Linked DNA regions of Homo sapiens: regions 1 and 2 are each linked to region 3. Evidence: promoter capture Hi-C in human tissues and cell types (Jung and others, 2019). All regions are on one chromosome and are shown on one strand. The core of a region is centred on a gene start or on the middle of the fragment in contact, and the rest is flanking DNA. Distances in the headings are between cores, read along the strand shown. Region 1 overlaps LINC00840 (long intergenic non-protein coding RNA 840). Region 2 has its middle 160 kb from the start of LINC02659. Region 3 holds the start of CXCL12 (C-X-C motif chemokine ligand 12).

Evidence for each region. Contacts are between HindIII fragments. The study calls those that stand out against the background at their distance.
Region 1: a fragment that was not itself captured here is called in contact with the fragment with the promoter of CXCL12 in region 3 in 1 of the 25 tissues and cell types used here (lymphoblastoid cells).
Region 2: a contact is called between a fragment that was not itself captured here and the fragment with the promoter of CXCL12 in region 3, in 2 of the 25 tissues and cell types used here (IMR-90 fibroblasts and aorta).

Annotation. Positions count from the first base shown.
Region 1 is chr10:43,886,257-43,890,238 of GRCh38, forward strand. All of the region lies in intron 4 of LINC00840 (long intergenic non-protein coding RNA 840), which reads left to right. Among named protein-coding and RNA genes, the nearest start is that of LINC00841, 21 kb to the right of the region's middle. The HindIII fragment of the contact is 5,785 bases long and covers 1-3,982 here.
Region 2 is chr10:44,074,535-44,078,432 of GRCh38, forward strand. No RefSeq gene overlaps it. Among named protein-coding and RNA genes, the nearest start is that of LINC02659, 160 kb to the left of the region's middle. The HindIII fragment of the contact is 3,561 bases long and covers 1-3,541 here.
Region 3 is chr10:44,383,077-44,387,310 of GRCh38, forward strand. It overlaps CXCL12 (C-X-C motif chemokine ligand 12), which reads right to left and starts at 2,021. Exons shown (of 3, transcript NM_199168.4): 1 at 1,869-2,021. The coding sequence starts at 1,929. RefSeq lists enhancers at 1-270, 271-964, 965-1,656 and a silencer at 3,550-3,759. The HindIII fragment of the contact is 18,967 bases long and covers 1-4,234 here.

The sequences.
Region 1 (3,982 bases), core at 640-3,139, 500 kb before region 3:
GAAGTATTCTGAAGAAAACTTTAAAGATTGTTGGCCTAGGTAGTTGTAATTTGCTTTCAAATTTTAAATTTTTTTAGATGACAAAAGAGTGATACATATTCAAAGTATTAATTTATGCAATAGAGAAATATATACATAAAAAATCATGTCCACCTGTCCATACTACTCAAAGCAATATACAGATTCAATGCAATCCTATAAAAATTTTAATGACATTTTTTATAGAAATCAAAAAAATTCTTAAATTTTTATGCAATGATAAAAGACCTTGAATAACCAAAATTATCTTGAGAAAGAAAAACAAAGTTGGAGGCATTACACTTCTGGGTTGCAAATTATATTACAAAGCAGTAATAATCACACGGTATGGTATTGGTATAAAAACACTCATACTGTATATACCAATGGAACAGAACAAAGAGTCTAGAAATAAGTGCAAGTATACATGGTCATCTAATCTTTGACAAGGCCACCCAGAAGACAAGATGGGGAAAAGATAATATCTTCAATAAATGGTGTTGGGAAAATTGGATGTCCACATGCAAAAGAATGAAACTGGATCTTTATCTTACACCTTCATGAAAATCAACTCAAAATTGATTAAAGACCTAAACGTAAGATGTGAAACGATAAAATTCCTGGAAGAAAACACAGGGGAAAAGCTCCTTGATATTGTCTTTGGCAATGATTTTTTTAAAAATATGACTCCAAAAAGCACAGGCAACAAAAGCAAAAACAAACAAGTAAAGACTACATCAAACTAAAAGTCTTCTGCACAGCAAAGGAAACAATTAACAAACTGAAAAGGCAACTAATGGAGTGGGAGAAAATATTTGCGAGCCACATATCAGATAAGGGCTAAAATCCCTATGGAGTTCATACAACTCAATAGCAAAAAAAACAAACAACCTAATTAAAAAATGGGCAAATGGCCTGAAAAGATATTCCTCCAAAGAAGACAAAAAAAATGGCCAACGGGTTTAAGAAAAGGTACTCAACATCACCAGTCATTGGGGAAATGCATATTAAAACCACAATGAAGTATCATCCTACACCTATTAGGATGGCTATTGTAAAAATGACAAGAGATAACCAGTGTTGATGAAGGCACAGAGAGAAGGGAATCCTTGTACCCTGTTGGTGGGAATGTAGATTTGTGCAGCCATTATGGAAAACAGTATGGAGGTTCCTAAAGAAAATAAAAATAGAACTTCCATACGACCCAGCAATCCCACTTTTGGGTATATACTCAAATGAAATCACCACGTTGTAAAGATATCTGTACTACCATGTTCATGGCACCATTACTCACAATAGTCAAGATATGGAAACAAGCCGTGTCAATCAAAGGATAACTGGATAAAGAAAATGTGGTAGATATACACAATGGAATGTTATTCAGCCTTTAAAAAGAAGAAAATCTTGCCATGTATGATAATATGGATGAAACTAGAGGACATTATGCTAAATGAAATAAGCCAGACAGAGAAAGAAAAATATGGCATGATCTCACTTAGATATGGAGTCTAAAAAAGAAAAACCATGAATACGTAGAAACAGAGTAGAAAGGTGGTTACCAGAGGTGGAAGCAGGTGTGGGGGAAGTGGGGAGATATGGGTCAAAGGGTATAAACTTGCGGTTATCTGAAACGGTAAGTCTAGAGACCTAATGTACAGCAAATGGACTAGAGTTAAATCTGTTGTATATTGAAAATTTGCTAGAGTAGATTTTAGGTGCTCTTGTCACATACATACACACAAAAGAAAATGTAACTATGTGAGATGATTGGTGGATATGTTAACCTACTTGGCTGTAGTAACCATTTCACTATAAATACGTAATATCAAAGCATCATGCTGTATTCCTTAAATACATACAATTTAAAAAATAAGGAAAAAACATAATGCCCACATCCCCAAACCCACAGAAGAGAGTTAACTGTTGGTATGTATTCCTCCACAGTTTTCTTAGCTGTCATAAAACTTATATGAGCAAATGTAAAGGATGTTTTCTTTCCTTAAAAAAAAAAACCACCAAAACAAAATTAAGGACTTATTATTTCATTTGTTTTGCAGTTTGCCTCTGTCCCCCCAAATAAATCCTGGACATCACTGTAGGTCAATTCAAATAGATCTAGTATATTCTTTTAAAATTGTTTCATAATATTCCATAATATGAGTATTCTGTAACTTGGTCTTTCTGAGCCTCTTCCCTTCCTTCTTTCTCTTTTCCTTCTTCCTCTTCCTCTACTTCTTCTTTTTTCCCCTTTTTTCTCCTTTTCCTTCCTTTCTCTTCTCCTCCTCTTTCTTCTGGTCTGCACAAATAACTGTGTAACAAAATCCCTGCATTATTTGAGCACCACTGCTAGTCCAAATTGTGACAGTTAGAAAAAGGCATCCCCCAAGACATTTTACTGCCAGAAAACTGTTATAAAATATATACAAATCCATGATGACTAACGGGAAAATGATGCACCTTAGAGTTCATGGTTGCAAAATTTTATGCAGCAGTCCTCACATACTAAGGCCATTATTTATATAAGATCAGATTCCCGGTCAATGCAGATACATACTTTAACTTTTAGTAGCTTCTGCCAAATCATATTCCAAAAATGTTGTAATACTACAGTGTATGCGATACACTGCCCACACCCTCAATAACATGAATTTCTATCTGAAAATAAAAACTTTCAAAAATAGCTTTATTGTTTATTGTGTAATGAAACAAGCTCATTGCCAAAAATCCCCAGAGTCCTAATAGCCTAAGATGGCCATTGTTAACTCTCAGATTAGCATTTTTTCAGGTATTTCTTTATGCCTCTTGAAATAGATGTCAATACTTTTTCCTGATTGGCATCGGACTAAAACCACTGTTCTTCGACCTACTCTTTAAGCTTAACGCTATTGGGAGCCCCTTTGTGGGCCAACAAATGGAGATGTGCACCATCATTTTCTAGGGAACATGCATTGTTTTCCATTCTCACATTCTGGGTGTAGATACACCATTACATAGCCTCACTTTTGGGGGGTTTATGCATTTGGACCCATCTTCACTGTCTTGGATTCTTGAAATATGTTGTGATGTGTGATCTGCTTCCAGATATTACTAATTTGTGTCTTCTCTTTTTTTTCCTGATCAGTCTGAATGGGGGTTTATAAATTTAATTGGTCTTCTGAAAGATCCCACTTTTGACGTCATTAATTTCCTATATTGTTTTTCTTTTTTCTGTTTTATTGACATCCACTCTGATCTTTATTATTATTCCTTGTCTTCTGCTTATTTGGAGTTTCTTTTAAAAATAACAACTATTTTTTAAAAGAAAATATTTTTTCTAATTTATTTTTTAAACGTTGACAAAAATTGTATATATTTATTGTATACAACATGTATTTTGAAATATTTTTACTAGTTTCTTAAACTGGAAGCTGAGGTTATTGATTTGAGACCTTTCTTTTCTAATATAGGCATTTAGTGCTATAAAATTATACTTTAGCTGTATATCACAAATTTTAATATATTACATTTTCATTTATAATTACTTCAAAATACTTTCTAATTTCTGTTTTAATTCCTTCTTTGATCCCTGAGTTATTCAGAAGTGTGTTACTTATTTTTTCTACATAATTGGGGATTTTAAAAGATACCTTTATTTTACTGATTTCTAAAGTAGTTCCATGTGGTCAGAGAACATGCTTTGTATGACTTGTATGATTTTACGTTCACTGAGACTTTATGGCTAAGAGTATGCCTTGGCAAATGTTCCAGGTACACCTGAAAAGGATGTGCATGCTTGTCAGGTAGAGTGTTCTATCAATGTCAACTAGGTTAAAGCTGATTGATAGTTTTGTTCAAATCTATATCCTTACTGATTTTCTTTCTACTTGTTCTATTAGTTATTGATATAGGGATTTGCAAATCTTAGATTCTAACTGACTTTTTCTATTTCTCTTTACAGTTCTATTAACAGTTTTTGCCTCATGCG
Region 2 (3,898 bases), core at 511-3,010, 310 kb before region 3:
TTAGGGGGAAAACATTCAGTCTTTTACCATTAAGTACAATGTTAGCTGTTTTGTAGATATTCTTTATTAAGTTGAAAAAGTTTATCTCTACCCCTATTTTGTGACAGTTTTTGTCATAAATGGGTGTTGAATTCTGTCAAATGCTTTTTCAGCATCCATTAATATAGTGGATTACACTGATCGATTTTTCAATATTTAACCAGCCTTGCATTCCTGGAACAAGCCATACTTGGTCATGGTGTATATTCTTTGCACATATTGCTAAATTCTATTTGCAATTTTTTTTCTTTGTGGTATCAGGGTAATATTGGCTTCAGGGAATATATTAGAAAATGTTCTCTTTTTTTCTGGAAGAGATTGTATAGATTTGGTGTGGTTTTTCTTAGATCACATATTAGTCCCTTCTTGCACTGCTATAAAGAAATGCCTGAAACTGGGTAATTTATAAAGAAAAGAAGTTTAATTTGCTCAGGGTTCTGCAGGCTGTACAGGAAGCATGGCTGTGGAGGCCTCAGGGAACTTAAAATCATGGCGGAAAGTGAAGGGGAAACAGGCACGTCTTTCATGACCAGAGCAGGAGGAAGAGAGAGAGGAGGGAGGTGCTATACATTTTTAAATAAACAGATAACGTAATAACTCACTCACTATCATGAGAACAGCACCAAATGGGAAATCTGCCCACATGATCCAATCACCTCCCACCAAAGCCCACCTCCAACATTAGAGATTACAATTTGACATGAGATTTGGGTGGGGACACAGACTCAAACCATATCAGACTATTTGGGAGAATTCTCCAGTGAAACCATCTAAGCCTGGATATTTCTCTTATGGGAGGTTTATAGTTATGAATTCAACATTCCTACTTGTTTACAGGATTATTCAAGTCATTTATTTTACATTGGAGGAGTTGTGGTACTTTGTACTTTTTGAATAATTTGTCTATTTTATCTATGTTGTCAAATTTACATATGTATGTTCATAGTGTTTATTTTTCGTTTGATGTCTGCAGAGTCTAGAGCTATCTTTTCATTTTTGATATGGTTGAATATCTGTAATCCAAAAACTCAAAATCCAAAATGCGTCAAAATCTGAAAATTTTTGAGTACTGACTTGACACTCAAAGGAAATGCTTATTGGAGCATTTTGGATTTTGCATTTTCAGATTAAGGATGTTGAACTATAAGTGTAATGCAAATAGTTCAAACTCTGAAAAAGTCCCAAATCCAAAACACTTCTGGTCCTAAGGATTTTGAATAAGGGATACTAAACCAGTACTGGTATATTGGAATGTCTTCTTTCTTTTTAAGTTTTGCTAGAAGTTAATGAATTCTATTTTCTTTTGCAAAGAACAAACTTTTACTTTCATTGAAGTTCTGTACTGTTTTTCTGTTTTCAATCCCACTGATTCTTGCTCTTGTTTTTGTTTCCTTCCTTCTACTTGTTTTGGGTTTATTTTGATTTTATTAAGATGAGAATTTAACACTGATTTGAGACTTTTTCTTTTTTCTAATGTAAGCATGTAATGCTATAAATTTTAGTCTTGGAACTGCATAATTGCATACCATAAATTTTGATATGTTGCATTTTAATTTTCATTTTCAATGTAATTTTTATTTCCCTTCTTTTAGTTTTCCTTTGAGAGAAGCTTTATTCATCCTTTATTACTTAGGAATATTTTGGGCGAATATATAATTTGGGGTGAACAGTTTTATTTCTTACATCACTTGAACAGTGTTTTGCCCCTCCCTTGGGCCTCCATGGTTTCTGATTAAAAAATCTACTGTAGGCCAGGCGCGGTGGCTCACGCCTGTAATCCCAGCACTTTGGGAGGCCGAGGTGGTGGATCATGAAGTCAGGAGATTGAGACATCCTGGCTAACACAGTGAAATCCCATCTCTACTAAAAATACAAAAAATTAGCCAGGTGTGGTGGCGGGTGACTGTAGTGCCAGCTACTCGGGAGGGTGAGGCAGGAGAATGGCGTGAGCCTGGGAGGTGGAGCTTGAAGTGAGCCGAGACTGTGCCACTGCACTCCAGGCTGGGCGATAGAGCAAGACTCCGTCTCAAAAAAAAAAAAAAATCTACTGTAATTTAAATTATTTTTCCCATGTAGGCAATGTGCTGTCTTTCTCTTATTGCTTTCAGGATTCTTTATCTGTCTTTAGTTTTTAGAAGTTTGACTGTGGTGTATCTTCGAGTGAATTTCTTTGAATCTATCACGTTTGGAATTCATTTAGCTTCTTGCATCTCTAAATATATAGATTATTTTGGCCACATTTGTTAATTTAGCATTGTTTTTTGAAAACATTTTTAGTTCCATGATCCCTCTCTTCTTCTAGGACTTTGATGACATGCTAAATCTTTTGTTATATTCATACATGTAAATGAGGCTCTGCTAATTTTTTCAGTCTGTTTCCTCGTTGTTGTTCAGATTGAGTAATTGCTATTGCTCTATCTTTAAGTTTATTGATTTATTTTCTTTTGTCATCTACATTCTGCCATTGTGCCCATTCACTGAATTTTTATTTCAGTTGTTGCATTGTTTAGTTCTAAAATTTCCCAGGGGTGAAGCCCACTTGATCATGGTGGATAAGCTTTCTGATGTGCTGCTGGATTCGGTTTGCCAGTATTTTATTGAGGAGTTTTGCATCGATGTTCATCAGGGGTATTGGTCTAAAATTCTCTTTTTTTGTTGTATCTCTGCCAGGCTTTGGTATCGCGATGATGCTGGCCTCATAAAATGAGTTAGGGAGGATTCCCTCTTTTTCTATTGATTGGAATAGTTTCAGAAGGAATGGTACCAGCTCCTCCTTGTACCTCTGGTAGAATTTGGCTGTGAATCCATCTGGTCCTGGACTTTTTTTGGTTGGTAGGCTATTAATTATTGCCTCAATTTCAGAACCTGTTATTGGTCTATTCAGAGATTCAACTTCTTCCTGGTTTAGTCTTGGGAGGGTGTATGTGTCGAGGAATTTATCCATTTCTTCTACATTTTCTAGTTTATTTGTGTAGAGGTGTTTATAGTATTCTCTGATGGTAGTTTGTATTTCTGTGGGATCAGTGGTGATATCCCCTTTATCATTTTTATTGCATCTATTTGATTCTTCTCTCTTTTCTTCTTTATTAGTCTTGCTAGTGGTCTATCAATTTTGTCGGTCTCTTCAAAAAACCAGCTCCTGGATTCATTGATTTTTTGAAGGGTTTTTTGTGTCTCTGTCTCCTTCAGTTGTGCTCTGATCTTAGTTATTTCTTGCCTTCTACTAGCTTTTGGATATGTTTTCTCTTGCTTTTCTAGTTCTTTTAATTGTGATGTTAGGGTGTCAGTTTTAGCTCTTTCCTGCTTTCTCTTGTGGGCATGTAGTGCTATAATTTTCCCTCTACACACTGCTTTAAATGTGTCCCAGAGATTCTGATATGTTGTGTCTTTGTTCTCATTGGTTTCAAAGAACATCTTTATTTTTGCCTTCATTTTGTTATATAGCTGGTAGTCATTCAGGAGCAGGTTGTTCTGTTTCCATGTAGTTGAGCAGTTTTGAGTGAGTTTCTTAATCCTGAGTTCTAGTGTGATTGCACTGTGGTCTGAGAGACAGTTTGTTATAATTTCTGTTCTTTCACATTTGCTGAGGAGTGCTTTACTTCCAACTATGTGGTCAATTTTGGAATGAGTGCAATGTGGTACTGAGGAGAAAGTATATTCTGTTGATTTGGAGTGGAGAGTTCTGCAGATGTCTAATAGGTCCGCTTGGTGCAGAGCTGAGTTCAATTCCTGGATGTCCTTGTTAACTTTCTGTCTCGTTGATCTGTCTAATGTTGACTGTGGGGTGTTAAAATCTCCCATTATTATTGTGTGGGAGTCTAAGTCTTTTTGTAGGTCACTAAGGACTTGCTTTATGAAT
Region 3 (4,234 bases), core at 771-3,270:
TTTAAGCCCGGGAAACCCAAGGGCCCAGCTGCCTGACGGAAGTCAGCCAATGGGGGAGGGGCAGGACCCCTGGCCAAGCTCTCTCTGTAGTGCAGCTTGAGGACTAAGTGTGGGGATAGGGGGCACATAGGCACTGTGAGGTGAGGGGAAAACAAAACAAAACAAAACATTCTGGCGATGTGTGTAAGGAGCAGATCTGCCTGGAGCCCAGGCTCCTGCCCTGGTTACTTGGCTGCCAATGGGGCAACTCTGAGGGCCATGTCACCCTTCCCAGGCCAGGAGGAGTCTGGGATGAACCCCACGTCTCTGTGCTTCCCCCAGGTCAGTTGCACCCATAACTCAAAGACCGAGGTTCCTCATTCCAATCCTCTCTCCAGCCCTCCGGGGAGGGGGCAGCACCATTTCCCAGAGCGGCGCACTGTGACACCTCCGCGCTCATCCCACCAATCAGTCAATAACTGCCCAAACCAGAGACCTTACAGGAACAGAAGAATATCCAGCAATAAAAACTAGAAACATGCCCCATGACTTGCGGGGGGGGGGGGGGGTCAGTGTGCAGACACAGCCTCAGGGACTTTTCATCAACGACGAACATTCCCAATTGCCTTCAGTCTGTGTCCTTAACACTTAGGCAGTCCGCCACGACCCCAGGCTGCCCAGCTTCTCCAGCCCGACTCAGCTGCGCTGGTCCTGCTCACACCAGCGCACAGTCCAAGCCAGCTAGGACGCCGGGGCCACGTCTGCACCAACCCAGCCAAGGGCTCGAGGCGCGCTGGGCCTGCACAGCCCGCGGCTGCAAGAGCACTCAGAGTGTCCTTCAACTCTTTGCAGGAAACTTCACAGCCAAGGAAGCTCAGCGGCCTGAGCCACAGGGTTTTGTTTTGTGTGTTCAGAGGCAACAGTTTATTTTGGTTTGCATCGGTGTCCTGTGACAGCGCAGCGAGTTTCTCTTCAGCGAAAGAAAAGAAAAAAGCCCTCTCCCAGTGAAACGGGACACCACGGTTCCCAGTGGCCCAGGGCCTTGGAGATTGAACTTTGCTGCAGCTCTCATTCTGGGGCAAAGCGCTTGGCCAGCTGGTGACAAAAGAGCCTGTCTGCAGGTGTGTTTGGGGAGCTGGGGAGGGGGCGTGTGAGGCTCGGAGGGTCCCTGGGCCTCTCTCAGGTGAACCCGAGAAGAGACAGGAAGACAGCGGCTGGACGCGCGCCCAGGTCCGCGTCGCTGCGGACCGCGGAGCTGTGCAGAAGCGCGGCCTGGCGGGTGGCACAAGCCCGACAGCTGCGCCGCGCAGCCCGCCCGCGCCTGGCCAAGAGCCCCGCGAGGGTGTGGGGAGAGGATCGGCTTCGCAGGGAGCGGAGGCTGCGCGGCTGCATCGGACCTCACAGCCTCAAGTCGCGGCATGAGGCGAACTTTGCAAAGCGCGCTCTCGCCATGCACCGCCCGACCTCCAGCACTGTGCGCAGCAGGACCTCGGAGCCCATTCGCCTGTGGAAACCGAGCCCGCAGCGGGAAGGCAGTGGGTGGAGGGTGGGCAGGCAGGGGTCTGGGGTCCGCGGCTCCCCACCCTCGCGCCTTCCCGCGCCAGTCCCGAACGCTCTCTTGGGGCGTTCCTGCCCAGTTGTCCCGGCTGACCTCGCTCTGCAGCCAGCTTGAGGTCAGGCGGTCGCTCTCTGCAGGTCACAAACCCTCGGCGCAAAAGTAGGGCTTTGAACGCGACACCGCACCAGAGCGCCCAGCTAAGCGAGCTGCCTCCACCCCCACTGTGTCGGGCGGCGCAAACTGCGGGCGCAGGCAGAGGAGCCGCGGCTCTGCGCCGGGCGGGAGCCGAAGCCCAGAGCCTCGCCAGGGCCTCCCCGCCGAGCGCACTTACCGTCGCTGAGGCAGAGCGCGGTCAGCACGAGGACCAGCACGACCACGACCTTGGCGTTCATGGCGCGGGCGGGCGGGCGGGCGGGCGGACGAGCGCGGGTCGGGGGCCGGACGCCGAGCGGGCAATGCGGCTGACGGAGAGTGAAAGTGCGGCGGTGGGAGGCGCGCGCCGGGCGCTTTAGAGGGGAGAGCCAGGCGGGGCGGGGCGGGGCGCGCGGTGAGGGGCGGGCCCGGAGCCGAGTGCTGGCCGTGGCCGGGGTCTCTGACGCGCGACTCCCTCGGCGGCACCCCCCACCCATCCCCTTCGCCCCTCCTCCGCTCCCTCTGTGCTCCCGAGGCGCAGTGCGCTCCGGCCTTTGACCTTCTCAGGCTCCGCTGGGCCCCGCACCGCTGGCCCGGTCTGCAGTGAGGTCCGCAGCCTGAGCGACGCCGGCTGGAGGGCCGCTTATTGTCCCTGTGACAGGGCCCCACTGGAGAGACTGAGGACCTTAGGCGTAAAGTGGGGCGCGCGTGGAAAGCTGCGGGACGGGGCCTTTCGATGGCGGGAACTGAATGAGAACCAATGAAAAGCAAACAAGTTAGTCCCGGGCGGAGGGCCTGCTGGCGGTGGCGGCCCAAGGCAGCCGAGGGGGTCCTGCTTTCTGTGCGTGGGGGCTCAAGCTCGCCACCTGCCCGGCTTGCGGCGCAGCCGCCGGCAGAGCTCGATCTGCGGGAATGAGACCCGTCTTTGCAGTCAGCGTGGCTCGGACTCCAAGCCCACGGCGCCACCAGCCGAGCCTCAGTTTCCTCGCCTGTACAAACAAAGCAGAAGGCGCCGGCGGCTCTCAGTAAAAGCGAATGTAGCCTTTGTACTTCCGACCTCTCAATGGTGAAATGAGCTAATCACAGGCCCACCCCGCGGAGTGGGACGGGAGATTCAATGAGACCCGCCCCACGCCGCGAAATTCTCTGCATCGTGTCTGACAAGCAGACAGTACTCAATAAATGGTAGCTGTAAGTAAGTCCTTTAAACCTAAGTACTTACTGCCTTACCCAAGAAAAGCTCCGTGCGACCCAAAGAGCTGAGAACTCCCCCACCCCGACCTCCGACTCCTAGGACAGTACTACTGGCGTCTGCCTTCTGGGTCCAGAAAACTCTTCCCACGGAGCCGTCCCTCGGCGGTGCTTAGCCCTCCGGATACCCCCGAGACATCCCAGATGGCCCCAGTCCGGTGGCGAAGGGAGGGTGCAGGTCGGCACCCAGGAGACGTGGGGGTGAGGAGAGCGCCCCTTTGGGCCTCGCTTTGTGACCGCAGGCTGCCCCAGCCACCTCTCTGTGTCCTTCCCAGCACAGCGTCCAGCGAAGTGGGGTCAGTCGCCGCGTCCATCCAGGGGCCTGCCCTGGGGACACGTCCCTGTCCCTGGGGAGTCCTGGCCGTCGGGGAGTGGGCGGTCAGCGGCTGCATTAGGCGGGAGCGGTCAACAGGAGGCTGCGAGGGCTCCGGAACTCCGCTGGTGGGAGTAGGTGTCTTCTGTGCATTTTTTTTCCAAAACCACTTTGGCCGTTAGATGGCTGTGGGCCGGCACTCCATCCATCCATCCATCCATCCATCCACCCACCCACCCACCCACCCACCCACCCTGGGCACTGGGCTTGGAGCCGGGAACCCCACTGACTTGGCCCTGCTCTTAAAGAACTGAAGGCAGTGAGGTCCAGTGAAGAAGGCAGCCGTCGGGCGTCCCCAGGCCTTTGCTGGGCTGGGCCGGGGAGCCTGGCCGCTCACCGGCCGCAGCGCTGGGGCTCCGGCGCCCTCTGGTGGCGGCGCCTCCCTCCCCGCTCCCAGAGCTCTGGCCAGCTCCATTCCTGCGCAGCTGATGAAACCCGGGAGGGCGAAGGGGTCCGCGGGAAATCTACACCCGGGTGGAGGGGCGCCCTGGAGCTCGGAGATCCGACCCTGCGGGAGCCGCGCGCAGCCTCGCTTGCCCTTAAATCTGGCCAAAGCAAACGCCATCGCCTCTCGCTTCTTCTTCTTCTTTTTTTCTTTGCCACAAAATCAGGTGGGCAGCTGGACCTAGGATCTGTCCCAGAAGCCTGAAAGGCCCGCGTGGGCTGAGTCGAGGGCGAACCAGGGATTCAGGCCTGGCCGCTGCCCCTCCCGCAGGCGCCCTGAGGCCCCAGAACAGAAGCTACTGTGGCACCCATGGGGCCATCCCTTCCGCTAGTCGTTCGTTAAATACTTACTGAGCACCCACTATGTGCTAGACCTGGGCTACATGTTTGAAGTAGTTTAGAAAAGGCACTAAACGTTTAGAAGCACATGGCGCTAAGCATAAGTAATTACGCATAAAATACTTAGAAGGCCATTAAATGCTAGGGGAAGATGGAGC